2 separate regions of the Homo sapiens genome follow, and region 2 is linked to region 1. The links are contacts of gene promoters, found by promoter capture Hi-C in blood cells and fetal thymus (Javierre and others, 2016). All regions are on one chromosome and are shown on one strand. Each heading gives the region's core, a stretch centred on a gene start or on the middle of the fragment in contact. The rest is flanking DNA. Distances are from core to core; before and after follow the strand shown.

Region 1 (7,216 bases), core at 4,663-7,162:
CAGGCTAAAACAAGCTACTGCACTGACTTGTTTGGAGGATTAAAGGAGCTAATGAAATGCAAGACAGGTGCCTCCCGACAGTGTGCCCCAGTGAAGGCTGAGCTTCTATCATGGGGGGCCTTCAGACCAGAGTCTTCAGGTGTGCAGTAGGCTATAGGTGAGACTGGTTTGGCTAGTGATGACAGGAGATGAATTTCACCATGGGCCAGCAGGGCCACATGTGGTCAGTCTTCAGGAAGTCACTCCCTGGATGTTCAGCTCCCCAAGGTGTGCAGGGCCACCCAGTTGGCTCTCTGAGGCCTAGGCCCACCTGCTATTCACCCTTCAGATGTTCCCCTCCTTATGTTCCCTAAGAGCCTGGCTCCTTTCCCCTCCCGGGTAGTTCGCACACACTACAAGACGTGAAAGACCTGAAGAAGGTGTTTAGGGGACTGCATGTGGTTCCTTCTGTTATTATTCCGATAGGTACTTTCTCCTCCAATTATGGAAACCCTGCCATTGTTTCTAGGTCTATTTAAAGCTTCTCACTTCCCTGCACTTTGAGGAAGGTGCTTGTCCCACCCAGTACTCAGCACCCAGCCTTGTCCCTGTTAGAAAGGGCTCAGAGGAGGCCTTTCCCAGGCACTTCCCTTTCTTGCCCAGTCCAGACCCCTGAGAACCTGTTGCTATGGAAATGACTACCAGAAAAGCAAGATGGTGAGGAGATTGACACATGGTTTGGGGCCAGACCTTTCTCAGAGGTGGTTTTTGGTCTTGTTTTACTTTATGTAGCTTTGTTTTTTGGTGGAGAAACACAACTCATATTCCCCATTGCTACCATTCTTCATGGAGCAGTCTCACCCCATACACGAGTTTTGATACCACATTTCTCTAGCGGAAGCCGTGGGTCATTTTTAGCTGGCTGGTTCTGGGAGCCTTTGAACAGGCCTTTGGAATCTTTGAGGATAAACAGGAGCCGGCAGGGCTGGGCTGCATTCGATTTAAAATTGGAAACACGGGAGTCAGAGGCGAGCTTTATATAGTCTGGGAGTGCAGGAGCCCCAAGTCCTGATTTATGAGGGAGCTCAGTAAAGCACATGGAAGCCAAGGTAATATTTATAAATTCCTTTCCCCTAGGATGGCTGGAATGTTGTTTTGAGCTGCAGTCAGATTGCACCTTTTTGGGGGCTGAGGGCAGGTTGTTTAAATTAGGTTATTCAATGACTGAAAAGAAAGGGATATGCCAGTTGGGCAACTGCCTCTAAGTCTCTGCCACAGAAAAACACAGGGTGGAAGAAAGCTCCACCCGCAGGGCTGGGTCCCTCTGGAGAACCCTGTTTGCCCATTTGGGTGGCTCCTTCCTCCTGCTCCAGCCCCCAGGCCTCCCCTTGCCTATGTCCAACAGGCGAGCACCCACCCCTGGCAGCTGGAGTGACCACATTTTACCAACAAAAAAGTTTACCTTGACATCTGGGTTTGGGGCAGGCTCTTTGGAAGTGCTGACCAGGGTGGGAAAAAGGAAGGGAAAATAAGATAAGGGGAGATGGGGAGGAAGCTAAAGACAGGCCCAGGTGTGACCTAGGTAGACCTGGATCCCGAGGCTGTTGTGTGAGAGGACACACTCACTGCCGTGGGTGAACTGAGTCAGAGTAGCTGATGCCATGCCGTGGAGGTCAGCAATGCTAGCCCGGTGAGAGATGCATTCATACTGTGGGTTTGGGGTCTGCTGGTGAGGGCAGGGGGTTCCCTGGGCATCACGCCCCGTGAGGCAGAAGGAGCCGTGCCAGAGAGCACTGTCAGAGCTGCGTCCCCCTCTGGCCTGGTCTTCCTTACCCCAACACAGAAGGTTGGGAGGGGGCAGAGCCATGTGGCAGCAGACGGTGCTCACTGTGGTGAGGGCAGTGACCCAGCTTCAAGGAGAAGGGCAGACAGAAGATGTTACTGAACAATCATATTCAGGGCCGGGCACGGTGGCTTGTGCCTGTAATCCCAGCACTTTGGGAGGCCAAGGCAGGAGGATCACTTCAGGCTAGGAGTTTGGGTAAGACTGGGCAACATAGAGACCTCACCCCTCCAATTTTTTTTTTTTAATTAGTGGGTCATGGTGGCACGCGTCAGTCCCAGCTACTCTAGAGGTCGAGGTGGGATGATCACTTGAGCTCGGGAGGTTGAGGTGGGACCATCACTTGAGCTTGGGAGGTTGAAGCTGCAGTGAGCTATGATTGCACCACTGCACTCCAGCCTAGGTGACAGAGCAAGATCCTATCTCAAAAAAAAAAAAAATGTGTTTAAACACCAAGGGGGAGGGGAGGGGTCATTCACCTTTGCCACAGGACGCACTTTGACCTTGCTGCCTCTGGCTTCTGTCTGTATAAAGAAGACACCTCCGGCCAGGCGCGGTCGCTCATGCCTGTAATCCCAGCAATTTGGGAGGTTGAGGCGGGCGGATCACGAGGTCAGGAGATCGAGACCATCCTGGCTAACACGGTGAAACCCCATCTCTACTAAAAACATAAAAAGTTAGCCGGGCGTGGTGGTGGGTGCCTGTAGTCCCAGCTACTCGGGAGGCTGAGGCAGGAGAATGGCGTGAACCAGGGAGGCAGAGGTTGCAGTGAGCTGGGATCACGCCACTGCACTCCAGCCTGGGGATCAGAGCCAGACTCTGTCTCAAAAAAAAAAAAAAAAAAAAAGACACCTCCACTTACTACTCTGCTTCTGAGGACTCCCCCTCAGGGAGGATCTGGGGCTGCCAGTTCTAAGCTGAGAGCAGGTAGGACCTTTCCACCACCCCAGCCAGTGCCTGCCTGAGCACAAAGAGCTCTTGATGAAAGGCTCCCAGCACCTGCAAAATCCAGGCCCAGGTGGCTCCAGAATGACTGGTGTGTGGGGTTGCAAAAAGACCTGCCCTGGCGGAATCGCTGGGAGGCTGGGAGGAAGACAAATAAAGACACTGGCGTGCCCTCCTGGCCCAGGCATTGGCAGTGCGTAGGTCCCAACCCTTGTAAGAGCCTCAAGCCTGCACCTGGGAAGAAGGGGCTTAGATGTCAAACCTCAGCCACGTGTATGACAGTGACTACAAAGATGCCCTGTGCAGGGAGACCTTGGTTTCTCTCCTTCCTGCAGAATTTAGGAGACATTCTACAAAAGGTACTCAGGCCTGATGTACTATTCCTTTTGCCTGGCGGTCAGCAGCCATGTGGGGGCTTCTGCCTGCCCCTCCTGCTCACAGCCCCCCACCCCCTGGGGTGCTGCTGCCCAATGAACTCTAGACACTCTGTCCATGTGTTTATGAGGCTTGTTCCCAAATCTTCCCCAGGACGTGTCCAATCAACCCCGACTCCTGAGAGTGGCAGGGAGGGGTGGGGATTTGCTCAGCAAGCTGAGCCTTAGCTTGCCCTCTGCTTCTGTTCCCCTGACAGGAGTACCTGCAGTTACACCGGCCCTGGGCCAGTGCTCACCTGACACCCCACCATCCAGCATCCCCTCAGGAATCCAGCCCCAGAGCACCTGCTTCTGCCCCTTTCTGCTCTTGTCTTGTTCTCGAGCTATGGAGAGGGGTGACTACCCTGGACAGTCTTGCAGTATTAGAGCAGGAAGGGATCTTGAAGGTGATGGTAACAGTAGCTGCCATTATTAAGCACCTACTACATGCCAGGTGTGTTAAGAATGTTGTTCTGGCTCCTCACAAGTGCTGGAGAGAGGCGCTACCGTAGTTACCATGATGGAGGCACAGGTTGGTGTCAGACCTGTAGCTGAGTGGTCAGGGCACAGACCTGACTGAAATCCCAGGTCTGCCTCTTACCCACTGGTGGGACCCAGGGCTGCTTTCTAAAGCCCTCTGTGTCTCCACTTCCTCGTTTGTAAGATGAGGAAGGTAATAATAGTGGCTGCCCCATAGGGAGGTGCCAATTGTCTATGCAGGCCAAGTGCTTGATGGTGCCCTGAGCCCAAGCAGGTGGCATGAGGGTCCTGTCATCCTGGAGGTCCCAGTGGTGCAGTGATGATGGCAAGGCCGGGGCTGGGGCCCAGCTCTTTGTTTTACAAAGGAGGAAACACTGGGTGTTGGTGGGCGGGGGTGGGGTGTCAGGGAGAGAGGATACATCCACCATGGCCTTTTCTGATGAGCTCCGTCTAGTGCCCATCCCGCAAAACATACCTCCCTTTAGAATTGAAGGGATCTCTGGCAGGGCCCCTTCGACCTTCTCTAGGTGTTGCCAGCAGCTTGCAGGGCTAGTGCAGGACTAACGGCTCTGAATTGCTCTTACACTGTGTGTGCCCAACTGCCCCCCAACCCCTCACCATCTCTAGTGCCTGGCACTTCACAACCAGGGAGCACTTGCCAGGGGGAATCAAAGCAATCAGCAGGTCCCTTCTCAACGTAATGGACTCAGGTCTTTCAAGTCCTGATGGACTTTTAACCACTCTTTGCTGCCAGCGTATCCATTTGATTGAGAATATTCAATATTTCCCTCATCCAGACTTGTCTCTCTCTGAGGCACCTTTCCCGCTCCCCCGTATAGGAATTCATTGCATTTTCAAAAAGCACAAAAATGGAGATTCCTGCCTCGTTTCAACCCTGAATTTAACAAGGATCATTTCCATGGAAACCAAAAAAAAAAAGGAAATGAAATAAGGACGAATATCTCATTTATTTCCCTGCAGCTCTCATCCCCTGCTCATCCAAGCCTCCCTCCTTCCAGATGAATAGGAACAGGTTACAGCTGACCCAGTTTCACTCCCAGCTTCAGAAGATGAATCACGGTGGGTTGGCGGACAAGGAATGGGGCAAGCTGGGGCAGCGCGGAAGGCAGTGCTGTTTTCAGGAGGCCTGACCTCTGTGGCCAGAGTCCCCGTCAGCACCGCTTACTGCAGGCCAAGATGCCTCCCACCCTCCAGAATCCGACCGCGGAGGGAGCTTCCAGTCCAGGAGCCTGCGGGAATCCTGGCGGGGGCTGAGGGCTGCAGCCCCCCTGGCCTGGGCATTGGGTGCCTCTTAGGGATCTTGCCTGGGTGCCCTAAGGGGTCACCCGGTGTCCGTCCTGGAGGGCCGCAGAGTCAGCGCAACCTGCCCTGGTGCTCGGTCCTAAGGTCAGCTCTGCTTCTCCCGAGTGGGGAGGGCGTCACGGTTTGCCTGCAGTGGGAGCGTTCCGTGTCATTCAGACGAGCAGGTGGGAAGGTCGGCAGGAGTGCAGAGAAGAGACGCGGGAAGCGGGATGCAGAGAGGTGGGCTGAATCAACCAGGCGCAGGAGGAAGCCACAGTGCCCAGGGGAGGCAGGGGGATGGGGGAGGAGGCGGGAGGCCCCGGGTTCTTGCCCTGTGGGCCGCGTGGGCGCCCAGGAGCATGGTGGGCGCCGGCCTCACTTGGACACCAGCACACGGACAAACTCCTCGTAGTTCACCTGTCCGTCTCCGTCCGTGTCCGCGGCCCGGATCATCTCGTCCACCTCCTCGTCACTCAGCTTCTCCCCCAGCCGGGTCATGACGTGTCGCAGCTCGGCGGCGCTGACGAAGCCGTTGCCGTCCTTGTCGAACACGCGGAAGGCCTCGCGGATCTCCTCCTCGTTGTCCGTGTCCTTCATCTTCCTGGCCATCATGCCCAGGAACTCGGGGAAGTCCACGGTGCCGTTGCCGTCCCGGTCGATCTCACTCATCATGTCCCGCAGCTCGGCCTCCGTGGGGTTCTGGCCCAGGGACCGCATGACCGTGCCCAGCTCGCGGGTGGTGATGCAGCCGTCCCCATCCTTGTCAAACAGGGAGAAGGCCTCCTTGAATTCTGTGACCTGCTCCTCAGTCAGCTGGTCGGCCATGCCAGGGGTGGGGGCGTGGGTGGCAGAAGAGGCCACTGTGGGGTCTCCCTCCCAGTGCCGCAGCCCGGCTGCTGTCCCAGCTCTGGGGTGGCAGGTGGAGATCCGGGCGGCCGGCGGGCTGTCTCGCCCTGGCTTGAGACGCTGGAGCTTAAGAAGCAGCAGAGTCCTCCCCCATCATTGGCAGACGCCCCTGCCCTGCGGTTGCCCGGGCCTGTCCTGTTTAGACAGGAGTCCAGGGCCTGCGAATCGAGCTGACGCCAGCACCTCTGTGCCTGCTTGCACCTGGACCCAGCAGAGCCACGGGGGCCCCGAATCACACCTGCAGTCAGGGCGTGGTGGGTGAGCTTTGGAGCAATCCACGCTGGACTCCTTCCTCCTGAATTTCCCTTTCTCTCCTCCCTCCCCGTCTCCCACCTGCCGCCTGTCTCCCACTCAATAAACTCCAGTGCCCTTTCTTCCCTTGAGTGGAGGGCTTTTTGCAGGATGAAAGGCAGATGAAAGAAACGTCCTTGCCTTTGGTTTCTAAAGCCTCATATAGAACAGGAGGGTTTTTGGAGGAGGAAGGTTTTCCCTTCAGGTAGAAGCAGCGAGTTTTCTTATCTTCAGAATGGACATGAATAGGGAGGGGTTTCCTCCAACCCATTCACTCATCCACCCTTTCACAGATATTTGAGTGCCTACTAGGTGCAGTGTCACTCTGGAAGCTGGGAACACAGTGGGACCGGCAAGCCACCCCCAGTCCTCGTGAGGTTAACTAGCAAGACAGCTAGTTTGCAGGTCAACTGATCGAGGAATGCAAACAAGGTGACTAGGGATTATTGATAAATGCTGATGGACATACAAGGTGGTGATGGACAGGACCCCGAGGTCACCTTTCAGCCTGGTCAAGGACAGACCTCCTGCTGAGAAGCAGCTGTCTAGGCCGGAGTGGCCATGGCAGGGCCAAGGGCTGGAAGATGATCAGTGGGGCTGCAGGCCTGTGAGGGAGGGGACAAGGAGGAGAGACAAAGGAGACCTTGAAGGGCTCAGCCAGGAAGTCCCACTATCATTCTCTGGTCCACATTGCCCCAGGAGCTCCGGGCAGCATGGAGCTGGGGCTGTGGAGCGGCCTCTCCCAGAGGAGACCCGCTTAGGGGGATAGTGGGGTGTTCACAGCACAGACTCGGCTCCCACTCCCAGGGGGCCTGGAGACATGACCCCCAGAGAGGCAGGAGCAGGCGCTTCACCTGTGGGAATCCAAGAAATCCACACTGGGGGAGAAACATGGAGCCCACTCTATTTTTTGCTGGGTGTGTGGGGGTGGGGTAGAGACCGGAAAGGGAAAGAAAGTGTCCTTTTGAGGACCTGGACTTGCCGAGGAGAGACTATGGCAGGAGAAGGGCTCGGATATTCATTTTTTTTCTCTCTGATTTTCCTTCCCTTCTCTATT
Region 2 (6,857 bases), core at 2,205-4,704, 35 kb after region 1:
CTCCAGGGTGTAGGCTGCTGCACACAGAACGTATGATTTGCTTTGAATAAACAGGGCCACTCCTCCCTCAGTGAATGTTTGCTGGAGGAGGGACCCCCTTGGCCTCCCTGGACTCCCCTGGAGTCTTAGCAAAGACAAGAAGTCTGAAGATGAGAGGAGGGGGCAGGAGGGAGGTCGTCAAGCAGGGAGAAAGTTCTAGAGGGAGCTTCGCCAGTCTCCTGAAGATGAGAGGTCATCGAGCAGGGAGAAAGTTCAAGAGGGAGCTTCGCCAGTCTCCTGTGCGGTGGGCGTTTCTAAGGTGAGTAGAGACCACTCACCTGCTGTTTCTGGGAATTCTGCCTGACAGCAGGAATTCGCTGTGCCTCTTGGAAGCACCCATGGGTGTATGTCTCCCACCACATTCCTGCTTAGCTTCCAGGGATGTGCCGACATTCCACACCCCCGCCCTGGGCTCTGGCTGCCCAGAACCCTCTCTCCCACCTCAGGTGTCTGCTCTCCCTGCCTTCCTGGTTTCCTGGAATCCATTTCTCCAGCTCTCCATGGAACCAAATCCTGCAAATCAGCCAACCCCCACCTCTCCCTCTTCTTGGGCAGGATCCCTGACCCAGCCATGGGTCTGATCCTTCCCGGCTCTGCATGGAGGCAGCACCAATATCAGCGCACAGTTTGGGCAGGCACAGGGGGACAGGAGAGGGTCAGGCCTGGGGAGTATCTGTCGGCCAGTCCCTCCCCAGGCCATATCAGGAGGGTATGGAGTGGACGGGAGTCAGGCATGTGCACTGAGGAAGAGACACTCACTCACACCCACTCCACACACACACCAAGAGCCGCTGGCTTGCGCTGAAGCTTCCTTGTCAGGGGGTCCTTGACTTCTTGGTCGAGCCCACCAGAACAGCTTCTAAAGAATGATGGGCTCTGGTCTTGCTTAGAGGGATGCCATAGTGGGGGTGCTTCAGGCAGCAGGGATTCCAGGTGGTGGGAGCAAAGGGGAAAGGTGAACCCTGGAGTCTCCTGCAGTGGCCAGGCCAAGCCCAGACCCTCCTCCTGGGCCACCATCAGCCTTTCTACCTAGGACTGGTATTGAAGGAGGGCCCGGGGGCAGCTGCTCACAGGCTGGGGCACATTCTCTCAGGCAGTGAAGGGTCAGAGGCCTCACTGGTCTGGTCAGGCCCCAGGCCCCCGTGAGTGTGGAGTCAAGACTCCTGGGCTCCAGGCCTGAAGCTTGGGACGTGCTCTGCTGGGTGGTTTTAGGTCAGCTGCCTCCCCTGTCTGGGCTCAGCTGTGCCTTGTGTAAGGTGGGGAGGCGAGGAGCAAGAGAAACATAGTTCTTGGGAAGGAAAAGGTCACACTGGTCATCAGGAAGGCACTTCAGAATTGTCAGTCCAATGCTCACCTACACAAGCATAGACAGCAGGATAAAATGGAAACAATTTTCTAAGCAAAGACCATGTGTAAATATTTTGGAACATACCCTGCCTTTTTTTTTTTTTCCTTTTCTATCCACTCACATACTTCTATTTCTACATACTTTTCCTTCCCAGAAATGGCATCATGCAGATGACTCTGTAACCATTCTCTATCTAATGCTGTATTGTGGACACCTTTCCTTGTGAAAATAATGGAGACCCACGCCATTGCTTTTAGTGGCTGATCATATTCCATTCAATGGTTGTGTCACCCCTGGAGCCTCCAGAATGAGATGGAGAAGGAATTAAATCCCAGATCCGCTGTCCATGTGGCCTTGAGCAAATACCTTGACTTCTCTGAGTCTCGGTTTTCTTACCTGGAAAATGAGATCAATAATAATACCTGGGCTACTGGGTGCTGTGACACTAGCACTGGGTACACTGCCTGTGGAAGGTACTAGAAAGCACTCAGAGCCCACTGAAGAGCCCAGGCTTCTGGAGCGTGCTGCTGTGAGCATGTCCCAAGGTGGCCTTTGCCTGTGGAGTCCACACGTGGCCCAGTGCAGCCCCTGCCACGTAGCAGGTGCTCAGTGCTCACAGCAGGTGTGACTCATGAGTCCCCAGCCACACACACTGCCCCGGGTATGAGGGTCTAAGTGAAGAACAGTGAAGGAGAGACAGGATCCCCGGCCTGAGTTCGGCGATTCTGTCCCTCTCAGAACATCCATCATGTCATGGGAATACAGTCTGGAATCCCAGAGCCAAGGCCTGCTCCAGGCTTGTGGCCGACTTGGCATCAGGGAGTCTGGGTGCCCATGCCAGGGCTGTGGCCTTGGCAGTTGGACCCAGGGAGGGGGGCAGGGGTGAGCCCCCTACAAAGAGGGCTGTGGCAGGAAGCTCTGTGCTGATTTGGAGGTCTGGGGAATGGGCAATCAGAGAAGCATTAAGGAAGGAGAGAAGTGAAGCCACTCAGACAGCCTAGGGAGGCAGAAGACCTGTCTGGGGCAGACAGAATAACAGAGACAGGGTGTTCTAAGCCAGTTGTTCATTGTTGTTGAGCCCATTCTTAAGAAGGGCTTTGATGGGGCCACAAAGCAATAAGAAAGCAGCAGATTCTCTGAATCTACTGTCCCAAGAGACGAAGAAGGGAACTTGAGGGACTGGAGAGGAAGTGGCTCACTTCAGGTCTTAGAGCGAGGTGCTAAGAAGGACCTGGAGTGGAATTCAAGGGCTCAGAAGGGGGTCAGGGGACTGCCTTCAAGGGGTGCTTCCTGGGCATACTCTGCCCAGGGACTGGTTTTGAGGTGGGGGTCTGGTGGTGGGGTTGGTTGGGACCCACATAGTGGAATGTCTTCCGGAAGCTGGTGACTGTGAGTTACGAGAGATGCACAGACATGGCCTCTCTGCCGACTCTGAATGGCCTTGAAGACCCTCAAGGGCAGAGACCAGGCTATGCTCCACGTCTGGGTCCACAAGGGTGCCCGGTCTCAGCTCAGAACACCAAAGAGAGTAGACAGAGCCCAGGAAGCATCCGAGCAGCTGGCGCAGCTTCAGGTCACTTAGGAAAACCCAGTTCTTTGAAAGCTGCTTCTCTGAAAATTGACTTGCCAGAAGCTTAGTTCTGCAAATGGTAAACGTGCTGGTATTTCCCAACTTACTAAAAAGTTTTTTTTAAAGGATACTTAATAAAGATCACAGAAATTCATATTGGATGAGCTATTCTAAGTTGTTGACTATTTCTTTGACGTTTTATTTACTGAGTTTAAATTTTTAGTTTTGTTCAGTTCTACTTTTAGTAAATTATTTTAGCGGCAGTCAGTTCACCTAACCATTGTACCATAACCTGACAGTGTTTAAAGTTGTCTGTTTTTGTTTTGTTGTTTCATTTTTAGCATTTTGGTTCAATGGTTTTGGAGAAAGAGAGCTTCTGGTTCATTTCAAGATTCAGCCATTGGACACGTCTTCAACGTCCAGGATTTTAGAGATTGGCAGCTTTCTTTCCCCTAATAGAATTTCAACTTAAATCTATTGCTTTAGTACTTCTTTCAATTCACTGATTTATTCACTGGCTCAATCAAATGGATATTTTGCAAGTGGTTTAAGTATTTGGTAAGTGCTTGGAGTCTGAAATATGAATCACACATGAAACTGACATTCAGCAGGGGAGAACTGCACTCATGAAGCTACTGGAGTTGACTTGGGTGGGACAGCATTGGGGAAACCAAAACTAATTTCAAGTAAAGCAAAACTTCCCCCAAATCTTCCAAGAGGTTCTTCAGTAGATTGATTTGTCGGTAGATTGAATTACTCTACTTCTGATCCAAATACATGTTTCAAATTTCATATACGAAATAATACATTTTCTTCATTGGATTGCCCCCTGGATCTTTTAAATCCTAGTTTATATCCATCCTGGTAGGCCTGGTGACCCAATCCTTCTGTTAAGTTCCACATCAAATGCCTCCTGCTTTTGGAAGCTTTCCACAGCCGGGCCTGGCGCAGAGGGGGTTCCTCTGCACCTCTTTTCCAAGCAAATGGCTGAAGGTGATCTCTCCCTATTTGTACAGTTCCTTCCAGAGTGCACCTCTTACGTCATTCCTAGTGGACAAGGCCTATTCTCCATCCTCAGAACCCTGAATAGTGAAATAAAGCCCATCAATGCTTAAACTAGATGACAGGCTCCTCAAGTGTGTTGGATTCTGCATGAAACCCTCCACATGCACTGTGATGGCACGACCTGGCAGGCTCCTTTGCCCGGGAGGCCTCATCTCCAGCATGGGGGAGATGGCTTCCGTAGTGCTGATGGGATTAAAGGAAATCTTCACAGAGTTGTACTCTGCAACAAGAGGAAGAGTCAGAAATGCAACTGCAGAGAGAGGACTCCTGTCTTGTTCTCTCTTTTTGTTGTCCAAGAACCATGAAAATAGTCCTCGTATGATCACAAAATCCCAACTCATCCCCTCTTGGTCCAAACATAGGGAGAATCAAAGGCATGTCACCCTGCCAGGTAGTCAAAGATGTGGACTCCAGACCTCTAAGACCAGCTTTTAAGAGTTCAAGCCATTGTTTCTCTCTCCACAGTGGGTCCCCCTTTTATAAAAACAACAACAACAAAACTCATCAAGAACAGATTCCCAACAGGTATGGTGATCATGTGTTCCAGAAACAATTTAGGTAGAGTATTCTATCTCAGTTTCTCTGGAAATGAGTCCAGCTTTTAGTTTTTGCATGTGAACCACGGCCGCAGTGCCTAGGCTGCGCAGGTCGCCCTCCGTTCCCGCTGGAGAAGCAGGTGAGGCCTTCCCAGCCTGGGCCCAGTGCAGTCAGGCCCTGCCCAGCCCACAGATGCCTGCACCTTGCTCCTCCCCTGGCTTCCCTCTCACGTGGCTGCAGCTGGGGCAAAGGCCCAACGACTCCTTCTGTAAGCTTCTTCTTGCTTTTGCACTGTTTACCATCTCCAGGTGTGAGCTCATCTCTTTCCCCACCACAGGTGGCCCCACCCGATCTCAGCTCTGCCTTTCCCGCCTCTCTGCTGGGTTGCATAAGCCAGCGATTCCCAACCCCGGCTGCACCTGGAAGCTACCCCAGGAGCTTCTGGAGAATGTGCCGTGTGAGCCATCCCCCTGCACTGAGCCCTGGTGGGTCAGCGGTGGGGGCGCCCAGGCGTGGGGGTCTATTTAAAGCTCCCAGGTGCTGTGCGGCCAAGATTAAGAGGCACTGCTCCAAACTGTCCTGGCAACTCTGACTGTACCCGGCACTCCCCACGCCCAACCTCCCTTCTGCCCCTGGGCAGGTTGGCATCCAGTGTCGGGGAGAACCCTGGAGGCGAACGCCAGCCTTATAGAGCCCCACTGTTGGGAGGCCTGCAGGTTGGACAAGGCGAGGTCTGAGTCACCTTGGTTGGGAGCAGATGCTGCCCTGTTGGTGGCCTGCCAGCCTCTGTCCCCACCCCACCACTCAGAGACATGGTGTGCCTGCACTTTCCTGATCCGGGAGCTCCTGCCTTGCTGCCCAGATGACCTTTGGCCTAGGAAGAAGTCAAATCTCAGTGTTTTGGACCGGGCACGGTGACTCACAACTGGAATCCCAGCACTTTGGAAACCCGAGGTAGGTGGATCACTTGAGGCCAGGAGTTCGAGACTAACCTGGCCAACATGGTGAAACCCCATCTTCACTAAAAATACAAAAATTAAGGCGTGGTGGCAGGCACCTATAATCCAAACGACTCAGGAGGCTGAGGCAGTTGAATTGCTTAAACCTGGGAGGCGGAGCTTGCAGTGAGCCGAGATCGCACCACTGTACTCCAGCCTGGGCGGCAGAGCAAGACTCCGTCTCAAACAAAAACAAAAACAAAACAAACAAAAACAAATCTCAGTGCTTTTGATGAACAGTATTTTCCTGCACCGGGAGCCTTGTGGTCGTGGCTTCATGGAGGAGGTGTTGGTGACTTTCATTCACTCACTCACTATTCTACAAGTGTTTCCTTGGGTGCTTCTCCTTACTGTGAGTCTGCAGGGACTTGGAGGGAGACGCTGCGCCGGCCTCTGGGCCCAGGAGATGTAACATAAATGGCCATGCAAAGACAGTGGGTCAGGTCCCTCGTCAGTGGATTCCCATTCGAGGAGGTGCTCAGAGAAGGGGACAGACTTCCAGGAAGTGGCACTGAGGCGGGGGCAGATTTCAACAGGGGTGGGGCGTTCTTGGTGAGGAAACTGCATGAGTGACGGTTTGGAAGTGGGAGCGTCAGTGTCTTTTGGGGAGCCCGCGCTGCCTGGGAGGTAAGGGAGAGGTCCGAATGCCGTCGCAGACAGCCTGATGGTTTGCTGAAGGAGTCTGGATCCTTTTCAAGTCCCAGTGAAGCCTGGTGATATGGCCTTGGGCAAGTCAGTGGCTCTCTCTGCCTCAGTCTCCTCAACTGTAGCTGGGGGTAACAGTGAGACCCGCCTCAACGTGGTTGTGAGGAGGGTGGGGGGTGGGGGATGTGGAGAAAGTGCTAAGAACAGCGTCTGTGGGGCCGCAGAAGTGTTTTGCATAATGTCACCAAGATTAGTGCTATTTCTTCCCCAGAAGATCAGATGGAGACTCACGGAAGGTTTTTAACCTGTGGGGACGTGCGGCCAAATTGTGCTTTAGGAAGCTTATGCTGGCAGTGATGTGTGGTATGAAGGAGGGCAAGGGAGATGGGCCCTGTAGGAGGCAGATTCGGCCACCTAAGCCTGAGCTGATTAGGACAGGAGGGAAGGTGGAGGCAGTCAGCAGAGAAAGGAAGGGACGTGGGGAGGGGAAGCAGAGAGGAAGGCGTTGGAGGGACAGGGCCTGACTTAGTAACCCCGGGGCCTTGAGCAGTTCTGGACGAGGTGGGAGGGGAGTGAGCAGGGGACGGGAGAGACTCCAGCCCCACCAGGCTGAGCCGTGTCCACACCCTGCCGGGTCAGAGTTACTGCTGGTACC

The links. The method cuts DNA at HindIII sites, captures the fragments that hold promoters and counts their contacts. A CHiCAGO score of 5 or more calls a contact.
Region 2: a contact is called between a fragment that was not itself captured here and the fragment with the promoter of CALML3 in region 1, in 1 of 17 cell types (megakaryocytes). The highest score is 6.0, in megakaryocytes.

What each region holds. Positions count from the first base shown.
Region 1 is chr10:5,523,657-5,530,872 of GRCh38, reverse strand. It overlaps CALML3 (calmodulin like 3), which reads right to left and starts at 5,912. Exons shown (of 1, transcript NM_005185.4): 1 at 4,102-5,912. The coding sequence starts at 5,787. The coding sequence ends at 5,338. CALML3-AS1 (CALML3 antisense RNA 1) reads left to right here and starts at 4,627. Exons shown (of 3, transcript NR_120497.1): 1 at 4,627-4,740. RefSeq lists enhancers at 4,207-4,907, 4,908-5,607. The HindIII fragment of the contact is 11,209 bases long and covers 523-7,216 here.
Region 2 is chr10:5,486,931-5,493,787 of GRCh38, reverse strand. No RefSeq gene overlaps it. Among named protein-coding and RNA genes, the nearest start is that of CALML5, 9.2 kb to the left of the region's middle. RefSeq lists an enhancer at 1-62 and a silencer at 362-540. The HindIII fragment of the contact is 863 bases long and covers 3,023-3,885 here.